2 separate regions of the Homo sapiens genome follow, and region 1 is linked to region 2. Evidence: promoter capture Hi-C in 16 types of primary human blood cells and fetal thymus (Javierre and others, 2016). All regions are on one chromosome and are shown on one strand. The core of a region is centred on a gene start or on the middle of the fragment in contact, and the rest is flanking DNA. Distances in the headings are between cores, read along the strand shown.

Region 1 (3,619 bases), core at 936-3,435, 1.4 Mb before region 2:
CAGAGTACAAGGCTGAGAAAACATCAAGAAAGAGGAGAAGCTGGGGAAAAGCCATTTCAAACCCCTTCTAGGAGTGAAGCTGCATTTGAAGAGGATGGTAAGACACGTGGGTTTAGATATGATTAGTCAAGCCTTCAGCTGGGGTTCTTAGACAGTCATGCTTATTTCTAATCTTTTATTTCTAATTTAATTTGACTTATAACTAACCCCAGTGTTTTTGTTTTATTTCAGCTTCCTTTTTCTTCATCCAAGAAATTCTTTAAAAATGTGACCATTAGTTATCCCGCCCTTTTAGGCCAAATTTTTTCAGTTCTTCTTGAGAGTGGATTATACCATGCTTTCTGTCTGGAAAATCTCCTGATAGCAAAAACTTACTATAATATTCCCCCTTGAAAGTATTCGGGAAATCCAGGAAAGCTATGAAAGACAAGAAACTAGTCTTAAAAAAATGGTTCTGTTTTTTACAAAATTCAACTGATAAATAAGTTTATGTGACCTGTTTTTAGATAACGCACTGTATTATAAAATTGCCATTTTTATGGGTCCAAATAGAATGGCAGCTACTTTAAGTGGCTCAACCTGGTAACTTATCAGACATTTTGGATTTATATACACTGTTCAAATAACAACATGTCAAATATAACTGTAAAATAAATTTACAATTTTTAATTTCAACCGCTGAGCAGAAAAAAAAAAAAGAAAGGAATTTCCACTATTCTAATATTTCCCATTCCAGCAACGCAGAATCTCAGTCAGAGTAATAATAAGCTTTAACCACCAGAGGGCACTAGAAAACTACCTTTGGGCTCCGCTGTTGCGCTAACCTGAGTGAGTTCCTATGAAATTTCTGGAGAGCTCTCCTAATGAAACAGCCTTCTGCTGATGCCTCCGCTATACTATATCAAAATGCACCAAGTATTTTAAAAAGTGATTTTAACAAATTCCTTCTATTTTCCTTTGTTGTCTTCCTTAAACAAATTTCAGTGAAGATGTAGTTTGCTCCCTTCTGAAGCAAACCAGCAGGGAGCGTTATTAACATTTTTAAAAAATTAGGACCTTTCTCCAGGTAATTTACAACAAATTAAGTAGATCATTATTTTAGATAGACAATCGTGGAAAGTTCCAAGAAAATAAACTCCACAACTTCTTTTTGTTACTTGCTTCGTTTCCCTTCTTTCAACCTCCACTACGGAATTTAGATCCAGTGAAAGTTTTGTGTTTTGTAATAAGAACAAACATTTTCTTATCGAACCAACAATATTTGAAGCTAATAATCTCACCAATAATGTATTTTTCACTGGATTAAACTGCTGGCAAACAGTCTATAGCTCCGTTTCCCTTTTTTCAACCTCCACAAGCAGAAATTTAAATCCAGTGAAAGTTTTGGTTTTTTGTAATAAGAAGAAATATTTTCTTATTGAAACGACAACATTTGAAGCTAATGAAAGAATCTCACCAATAATGTATTTTTACACTGGATTAAACCGCTGGCAAATAGCCTAATGTTTAACAATTCTGTCATAAATTGTGCGGAATGTCTACTTCCTAAATTGGAAAATGAAATAATACAACATGGATAATTTAAAATTCATACACTGCCTATTTTTTTTAAAGATTAAAATGGTTTACAGTAAAAACATGGATCAATTATTTTTAAATAAAAAGGAAAATTCTGAAAACAACTAATAATGAAATGAAGAATAACAATTCCAAAACACTTCAGAGATGATGTCTATATGAAGAAAAGTATTAGGTTGGTGTAAAAGTACCTTCCATGGCAAAAACCTCAATTAAATAGTTTCCTCAGTAATTTCTAAGAAAAAGGAAAAAAAAATCTTCAGGTCAAATGAGGGAGGGACATGTAAGGGACAGAAAAGTTTTATCTTTCCTTCCAATGCTTTTCGGTTCTTGGAAGGATTATACAAAATAGACACAAATAGTTAAACAGGGGGTTCCCAAACACTGTCCTGACCAATGTTACTTGTGCTGTCTCAGGGTTCCATGGTCAAGCACATTTGAGAAACATTTGTACAACATTCTGACAGCAAGCTGAACATTAACACCCTGAAGATTTTGAGAAGTTCTGGAGTAGAACCACCTGTTCGGCTCTGTGGAAACCAGAATTTTCCAAATTTGTTTGAAGATAGAATATTTCTGCATGATCCACAAATACAGGAGCTTACATAATATTTATCTCTGCTTCAGTACAGAGAGCAATTGCAGCATGCTTTCCTTCCTTTAAGCCCCGAGATTATTCTACCTTCATGTCTTTCTATTCACCTTCCTCTCTGAAGTTCAGGGGTGGGACTGTGGGGGCATTGAATCCTTCTGTGCCTTGTGATGCCCACATTTACTAACAGTGAGCTGTCTCCTCCCATATTTGTCATTTTAAATTGCTAATAGAGCTTTCTCTGAGGATTTTTGATAGAGATTCCATCCTTCCATAGTTGCTTTGTTTCTGCCTGTGCCAGGCACCTCAGAAGTAATTAACAACCTGGTACTATTTTTAATGTTTGTTTCTATGCCTTGAAAGTCTGTGATGGTTCCTATCCAAGGCAGGTGGTGTAAATATTCATCTCAAATCCAAATGAAGCCTGGTGTAAAGTTTCAGATTCTCAGGGACAATCCAGCTTCCTTGTTTTCTCCCTTTGCTAATGGGCAAATTGTTTTTCCCAGTGCAGCATTCAACTGAAGATCTGTTTTTCCGCTGTTATGTGGAAGACCTGAATTCCAGATTTTTGGTTTACACATACCTCTGTTTTTCTTCCATCCATATGAGGGAACAAGTCTTTCTTGCCAACCTTTGCAAGTTTCCCTGTAGCCTTTAATTTTTTCCGCATATTCTGATCCCTGAAGATGTCCCTTACTTTCTTGTTCACTAAGCTAAGCATGTAAAATTGAGGACCAATGTACTGAGCCCCCTTTTATGAAGTCTGGCAATTCTGTGAGCATCCAGTCTGCATCAGTGCAGCACCCTGAGTTAGAGCTCTTTGTTAGGCATCATAGAACAGGAAGGACACAAATAGTGTCCCTGGCAACAAAGACTTCAGCTCCTCCCAGCTCAGGAGGCTTTCCCAGGACATGTCCTATAGATTCGGCTCTGCACAGCTGTTCGAGAAATCTGAAAACCCTAAGTTGCACTGTTAACCCATCATCTTGTTAGCCCTGCCCAGGATGTCAAAGGGGGAAAGGAAATCAACATTTTTCTGCATTAAATGGTGACTTAAAGAAAGCTACCTCCATATTTGACCCTGTAAATCCATTAAAAACCTGGGGGCCTGCCAGAAAGTGCCTTTATGCTTGGCTCTGTATTAGCTTTCGTGACTTTCCTATAATGAATTGTAGCTTGCTTGGGTCATTAAGAAGATTCTGACAGGGAATCAGCTGGAATCTGCTGTTCTTTGAAGGACTCAATTTATCTATGATTCAGTGCTTAAGCAGTCAAAAGGCTTGAAGGGGTCAGTCAGGGAACATAGCTCATAACTCTTATAGGTGCATTGACTTTTAGTATATGCATTAGATAAACTTAAGACAAGAAAATAATTACTTTTCTTGCCACCTTTGCTCATTTGTTATTTAGCATTCCAGGCAAGGGTTAATTAAAAGCTTCTGTGTGTTG
Region 2 (6,815 bases), core at 1,835-4,334:
GAGAAGAAAAGAAATGAATTAAAAACTCCACATGGAGGGACCGGCTATTAGAGGGTAAATCCTCCTGGGGCATTGCCTTACTCTTATCTAACTTTCAAGCATATACTTTCTGCCTGTGTGCATGAACCATCTCTTTAGATGCCTGGTCGACTCTCTATGGTGTGTGACTAGTGCTCGCCTGCCTCCTTGCCTGGGCTTATGCTGTACCACCTGCCTGAAATGCTCCTTTCCTCTCCTGTCCCAACCAAATTTCATCTATCTTTCAAGATCCAGCACGTTTCTAGTCTTCTCCACAAAGCCTTTTCCAATCACACCCATATGAGGATCTTCTTCCTCTCTTCCATGCCCCTTCTGAATGCCCCTAGCACAGTATTCTCTGTGGCAACCTATCTGGAGCATAGGCTCCATGAGGTGGGGACAGGTGCTGCGCCAGGCCTCTCGGTGTTCCCTCTGGCAGCTGCACAGTGTTTGGGACATGCCCGATAGTTGTCCCCTACTGGAAGACTGATGGACTAAATATTGCAAGAAGGCACGAAGACACTAAACCAGTGGTTCTCAAGCTTGAGTGGCCTAAGACTTCCCTGGGGGACTTGGTAAAAGGGTTTCCTGGGATCAGCCCCCAGAGATGCTGCTTCAGCAGGTTGGGTGGAGCTCAGAGTTGGGCATTTTCAACAAGTCAGTTCTTAGGTGACTGACCGCTGTGGAGTCAGTTGTAAAGGCACATATCACCAACACTCACACACCAAGGAACTTTCATCCTTGTGTTCCAGTTACAAAGGTGAAGCCAAAAGGTTAAAAACAGACACAGCAAAACACACTGGGGTTATTAGTGTTGTCTCTCATAATTCCTAATGCTGATTTCAGCATTTTCTTAAAAAGGAAAAAAAAAAGTGGAAGCTAAAAGTACAGAGGTTTGCAACAGATTCTCCATATTTCTTTGATCCAAAACTGCACCTTCTCCACTTTTTAGCATCTCTGATATCAGAGTACAGCTTGCAATCGGTGGTATGCTACAACTAGCTTGGTCCTAGCTCCACTCCCCGCCATCACACTTCAGTGAATTATGTGCTGTGCTGGCACTACACATGTTGAGTTTCACTGCCATTTAAGAGCTTTCAAAAAGATTATGTGACAATTTGGCATTGAAATGAAAAATTACTGCATATACAGAAGAGCATGAAAACAGAGCAGCAAGACATAAATTTGATATTAGTGAAACCATTTGTTGGAGGAATAATCACACTTCCATATTTTCTTGCAAAGAAGCAACAACCAATAGGATCAATTGCTTTATAGCTTTGCTGCTCAAACTGTAGTGCTGGGGCCGGCAGCATTGGCCTCAGCTGGGAGCTTGTGAGAACTGCCGGATCTCAGGCTCTAGCCCAGACCTGTTGTATATCTACTGTTTAGCAAGATCCCCAGGTGATTTGTATGAACAGGGAAGTTTGAGAAGCATAGCTTTATAGGGCTTATGAAGGGAAGATATCCACAAGTAGATAAAGCTGAGTTAGGTTTGTTACCACGATATACACAAAAGGATCATCTATCACACACTAGGCAAAAAAGCTTGTAAAAACAGATGTCAGCGGCTGAAAAAATACGGGAGACCATAAGAGAGTGTATCGCCAGTTCACATGAAAGCCCAGAGGATGTTAATTGTGTGGTTTGGAAAAAATGTGTGGCATTGATGACTGCAAAGTGGTTCAGAAGAGTGAGAATGTGAAGTTTTGTGGAACACCTTAAGCAATTCATTTCACTTGTGTTTTCCTTTTTAGATACGTCGAGTGCTACACGTAACAAGAGATGTTTAAATAAATATGAAAGAGCTCTTTCAATATGGAAAACATTGTATCAGGAAAGAAAGCATTGTGTCATAGTTTAATTTGCAACTATTTTTTTCCTTAACTATATAGAAAATGAACATATCTTATAATAAAAGGCATCTCAGATTTAATGAAATATATATGGAAGTTGCCCATACTTTGCTATAATTGCCTTTTGCCTTTTCTCTTAGAGTTGAAATTTCAGTAACCATTGTCTTCACTCTGGTGATTACTAACATCAAGATATTTTACTTAAAAAACAAAATTTTGAGTTTGTTGCTTTTGCTTTTTTTTTTTCCTTTCCTTGAGACAGAGTCTCGCTTTATCACCCAGGCTGGAGTGCAGTGGAGTGATCTCGGCTCACTGTAACCTCCGCCTGCTGGATTCAAGCAATTCTTCTGCCTCAGCCTCCTGAGTAGCTGGAATTACAGGCACATGCCACCACGCCCAGCTAATTTTTGTATTTTTAATAGAGATGGGGTGGGGTGGGGCGGGGCGGGGCGGGGGGAGGGTCACCATGTTGGCCAGGCTGGTCTCGAACTCCTGACCTCAAGTGATCCGCCAGCCTTGGCCTCCCAAAGTGCTGGGATTACAGGCGTGAGCCACCACGCCCGGCCATTGCTTTTGCTTTTAAACTTTATGTTTTTAAGGGCTATGTACTCAATGCCATTAATCTACTAAGAAAAGAACAGTTTGTCTGCTCTAGCCGCCGTACTTTAGAATTTAGAAAATTAAATAAGAAAGGAAAAAATGTCACGCAAGAGGTGGAAATGATACAGCAAGACTGCCGTCCAGACAGACTTTAACAGTGATATATCCTCTTTTGCTATTTCAAACAATGGCAATCACATTTTAAAAAACCGAATAGCTGCTTTCACAATGAGCTCAACCTGAGCTCATTTAATCCTGAGAAACCTGTGTAACAGGTAGTACTATCTTCTTTTTCACAAATAAAGAGAGCGAGGTCAGTGAAATGAAATAACTCACCCAAGAAGAGAAGTGTTGTCAGTGGTGGGCCCAGAATTCAAAGGAGGCATCCCCCAGCCCCCTAAGCCAGCGTCTCTGCAGTGGCAGCTCCTCCATACACACTGGAGCCTGAAGCCTGGATTGGCCCTCTGGCGACAGATTATTTGAAAATCATTCCTCAGTTTTAGTGAACAATCCATACATTGTCTTCGTGGACTTGAAGGTCTTCAGTGGGCTGCCTCCTGAGGCTGCCTTTTGCTGGGTAATACCTTAGGATGTGAGAGCCGCTTGCCTTTAAATATGGAACCAGCTGCTACGTGCTCTTGACCACGGCAAAGCTGGCAGGACCTCAGATTTCCTTATGCGCAAAATGTCCCCATTTTTTGCAGAGTTTCTTGGAGCGTCCTTCTAAGGTTGAGCTCAGCTCACTTCACTAGGTTGTCATTTAAGAGCATATTGTGGGATGGACCTCATGCCTGACCCTGGGGTGCCATCTCACTGCCAACCTTTGACCCCGCTTTATGGCCTCACTGAGAACCTTCTCCCCCAAGATTCTCACTCCTTTAAATAACTCAGAATGCTAGTCTAAAAAGTTATCCCTCTTCCTTCTCATTAACTGCATTAGTGGTTTTCCATCTTTGCCAACATTGGAATCACCTGGGGAGCATTACAAAAATCTCCAGGCTCGGACCACACCTCCTGTCAATTAAATCAGAAGCTGTGGACGTGGGATCCAGGAACAGTATTTTTGAAACTGTGCAGGTGATTTCAATATGCAACCAAGTTTGTGAGACAGTACATCAGGTTAGTTGTCCACGAGCTTTACTTTTATAAACCTTTCCAATTAAGTTTTTCACTTTAAGTTAAAAGCCCTTCAGTATTAGACCAGGTGGGGTGGCTCATGCCTGTAGTCCCAGCACTTTGGGAGGCTGAGTGGGCAGACCACCTGAGGTCAGGAGTTCAAGACCAGTGACCAGCCTGACCAACATGGCAACCCCATCTCTACCAAAAATACAAAAATTAACCCTGCATGGTGGTGCCTGCCTCTAATCCCAGCTACTCTGGAGGCTGAGGCAGGAGAATCACTTGAACCCAGGAGGTAGAGGTTGCAGTGAGCCGAGATGGTGCCACTGCACCCCAGCCTGGGCAAAAGAGCGAGACTATGCCTGAAAAAAAAAAAAAAAAGAAAAGCTCTTCCGTATTCTTCCCTCACCTGCATAACCACTTTTCAAAAACACCTTTTGTTTTTATTACAAAAAGAACACACATTTATTGTGCAACCTTTAGTTTTGCAAATACAGCTAAGCAAAGAGAAGGAATTACAAATCACCAGTGATCTTACTATGAGGCAATAATTCCTGCTAATGTGTTCATATGGATTTCTCTAGCATCTTTTCCTTGTTTCTATCATGTGCATGTGTATTTTATTGTACATATGGTTTTGTAGCCTCCTTTTCTCATCTGAACGCCTTTTCGATTGAACTTCTCAACCTCCTGTCTTTTCCTCCTCTGACCTGACCTCTGTAACTTTAATAAGTCAGTTTTTCTTGGGCCTTTCAACTTGACCTTCTGTGAATTCTGAAGCCTCCTTTTAACCTAATGGCCAATTCAGTTCACAAGTGCTAAACCTGTTCCTTCTGGAGTCACTGTCTTTCCAAATGGCTCTACCATCTGGCTGCCCAACTGCTCAAGTCAAATGTGTCTGAGGTCATCCTAGATTCCTTGGACACATTACACTGCATTTCTAACCAACTATCAAAGCATGTCTATTGTGCCTCTTAAATATTTTTTGAATCCTTATTCATCTCTCCATCCACATTTGCAACTTCCATCCAGGGCCCCATTACATTTTGCCTCCATTGTCACAGCCTCCTAACTAGCCTCTTTATCCCCAGCCTTGCTTCCCTCTAGACCACTCCCCCACAACATCTGGGTGATATCACAAAGTTATTACCTTTGAGATAAAGTCTACACTCCTTCCTAAGGTTTTCAAAGCCGATATGAGCCAGCATCTGCTTAAATAATGCCCACTCTATCCTTCTCCCATGACTCCACCACACACCTGGTCCATGATGCTTCAGAAACATTGACTGCTTCCCTCTTTGTTCTACCTTAAACACGCTTCTCGTTTCTTCTGGTGAATGCCTGCTCATTTTGCAGGTCTCAGATGGATCCCCGCTTTCCTGGAGAAGTCTTTCCTGACTCCCCAGAGCTGGATCAGATGCCTCTCTTTGTGCTCCCCTAATACGCTGTATCTGCCCTATTGCAGCACACATCACATTGAATTGCACTGGCCTCTTTTCTTGGCTGTGTCTTCTCCAAACTGGAACACCAGGGCCACATCTGTTTTGCTCGACATAATGTCTCCAGCATCTAGCAACACTAACGAAAACATCTGTTGAATGAATGGTGAATGATTGAAGCCCTTCATACCACAACATGCAGTCTTGCGGCACAGACAGGGGTCTTTTCTGTATTGTGCTCTCAGTTGCAACACAGAACATCAACAGGTACTGGGCAGTGTCTTCTCTATAGAGCAAAGGGGCCCAGTGATAAGGGGATGACTTCCTCCTGCCCTATAGACCAGTCTCCCAAACTTTCTCGACTGCATAGCCTTTCCTAGTTCTTTTTTTCCCTCTTCCTGGCTTCCTCCAGCTTTGCAACCTTCAAGTCAAATTAGCCAAGTTGAATTTTATATGAGCTTAGTTTTATTTTTCACAGTGGAAGCTCCTCATCTCTTCATCAATAATAGACATCACTGTAACCCAAAGCTCTGTGGCTTTTCCAATAGAATCATGTTAATAAATATCTGGTGTTAGTTTGCTGTTGATAGCAACATTTCCAACTCTTTAGTGTTGGCCAAAAAAAAAAAAAAAAAAGAAAAAGAAAAAAAAGAAAAAGAAAGGAGTTGGCAAAAGCAGAGAAGAGCAGGCATGGTTTCTAGCCTTTCTCTCAAAATGTGAACCCTTAGTGCCCCTGAACTAGCTGGATGCCATTCTGGGGATAGAGCAGGTTTTACAGAAGCTTGTGTATTTATAATTTAGGGGTTTTCTTTAAGAAAAAGAGTATAAAACTATAGATATATGGCTTGCAGTTCTTGAAAGTTGCTTGTGCAAGTGCAGTGGGGGCCCTTGAAAACCATCCTTCATTCAATTAATTTGCTTTCCATCTCTATCATAATTTTTATAACTGGAGAAACTGAATCCTAGAGTAATGGAGCTGAGCATGAGTCAGCTTGAGAAGCTCTGGTTGCCCAGCCCTCCCTGCTGCAGGACCTGCAGTTCGTCGTGAAGCTACATGGACTCGAAACACTCACAAAATCCCCAGCTCCCGGTTTCATTCACAGGCCATGCCAGAAGGGTAAAAACAGAAAGGTAAAAAATAAATATTTTTCAATGAACTCAGCCTCTGTGTGGGCAATAAGCTGCTTGGTTTGGTAGGAAGAACGCTGGGCTGGGAGTTGACAGGGGCAGTTGTTGTTCATTCTATTAAGCACTTAGGAAAATAGACGTGCTGATGCTGATTTTGAAACAGATTAATATTGAGCCAGATAACAAGTTTCTACTCCACATTAATAGGAAAAAAATGGTGGATTCTGAGCTCAGTGGAGCTAAGAATTTAAAGAGGTAACCAGTTTTGTAAGAACAGGGAAGAAAAAGCCACTGCACCGCTTAATCACTGTGACCGCCACAGCCCTTTGGGAGCAGAAGGTCACTTCTCAGAACTCCTCCCAATCACTGTGACCACCACAGCCCTTCGGGAGCAGAAGGCCACTTCTCAGAACTCCTCCCAATCACTGTGACCACTGCAGCCATGCAGGGGCAGAAGGCCACTTCTCAGAACCCCTCCCAATCACTGTGATCACCACAGCTCTGTGGGAGTAGAAGGTCACTTCTCAGAACCCCTCCCAATCACTGTGACCACTGCAGCCCTGCGGGAGCAGAAGGCCACTTCTCAGAACCCCACTTCTCAGAACCCCCTCCCAGCCTCGAAGTCAAATCTGATGCCATCCCAAGGTCTTATACC

What was found. The method cuts DNA at HindIII sites, captures the fragments that hold promoters and counts their contacts. A CHiCAGO score of 5 or more calls a contact.
Region 1: a contact is called between a fragment that was not itself captured here and the fragment with the promoter of PKP4-AS1 in region 2, in 1 of 17 cell types (total B cells). The highest score is 6.1, in total B cells.

The regions. Positions count from the first base shown.
Region 1 is chr2:157,301,897-157,305,515 of GRCh38, forward strand. All of the region lies in intron 7 of GALNT5 (polypeptide N-acetylgalactosaminyltransferase 5), which reads left to right. Among named protein-coding and RNA genes, the nearest start is that of ERMN, 22 kb to the right of the region's middle. RefSeq lists a silencer at 714-793. The HindIII fragment of the contact is 2,838 bases long and covers 767-3,604 here.
Region 2 is chr2:158,731,918-158,738,732 of GRCh38, forward strand. It overlaps PKP4-AS1 (PKP4 antisense RNA 1), which reads right to left and starts at 3,085. Exons shown (of 4, transcript NR_135242.1): 1 at 2,811-3,085. The HindIII fragment of the contact is 4,247 bases long and covers 1,565-5,811 here.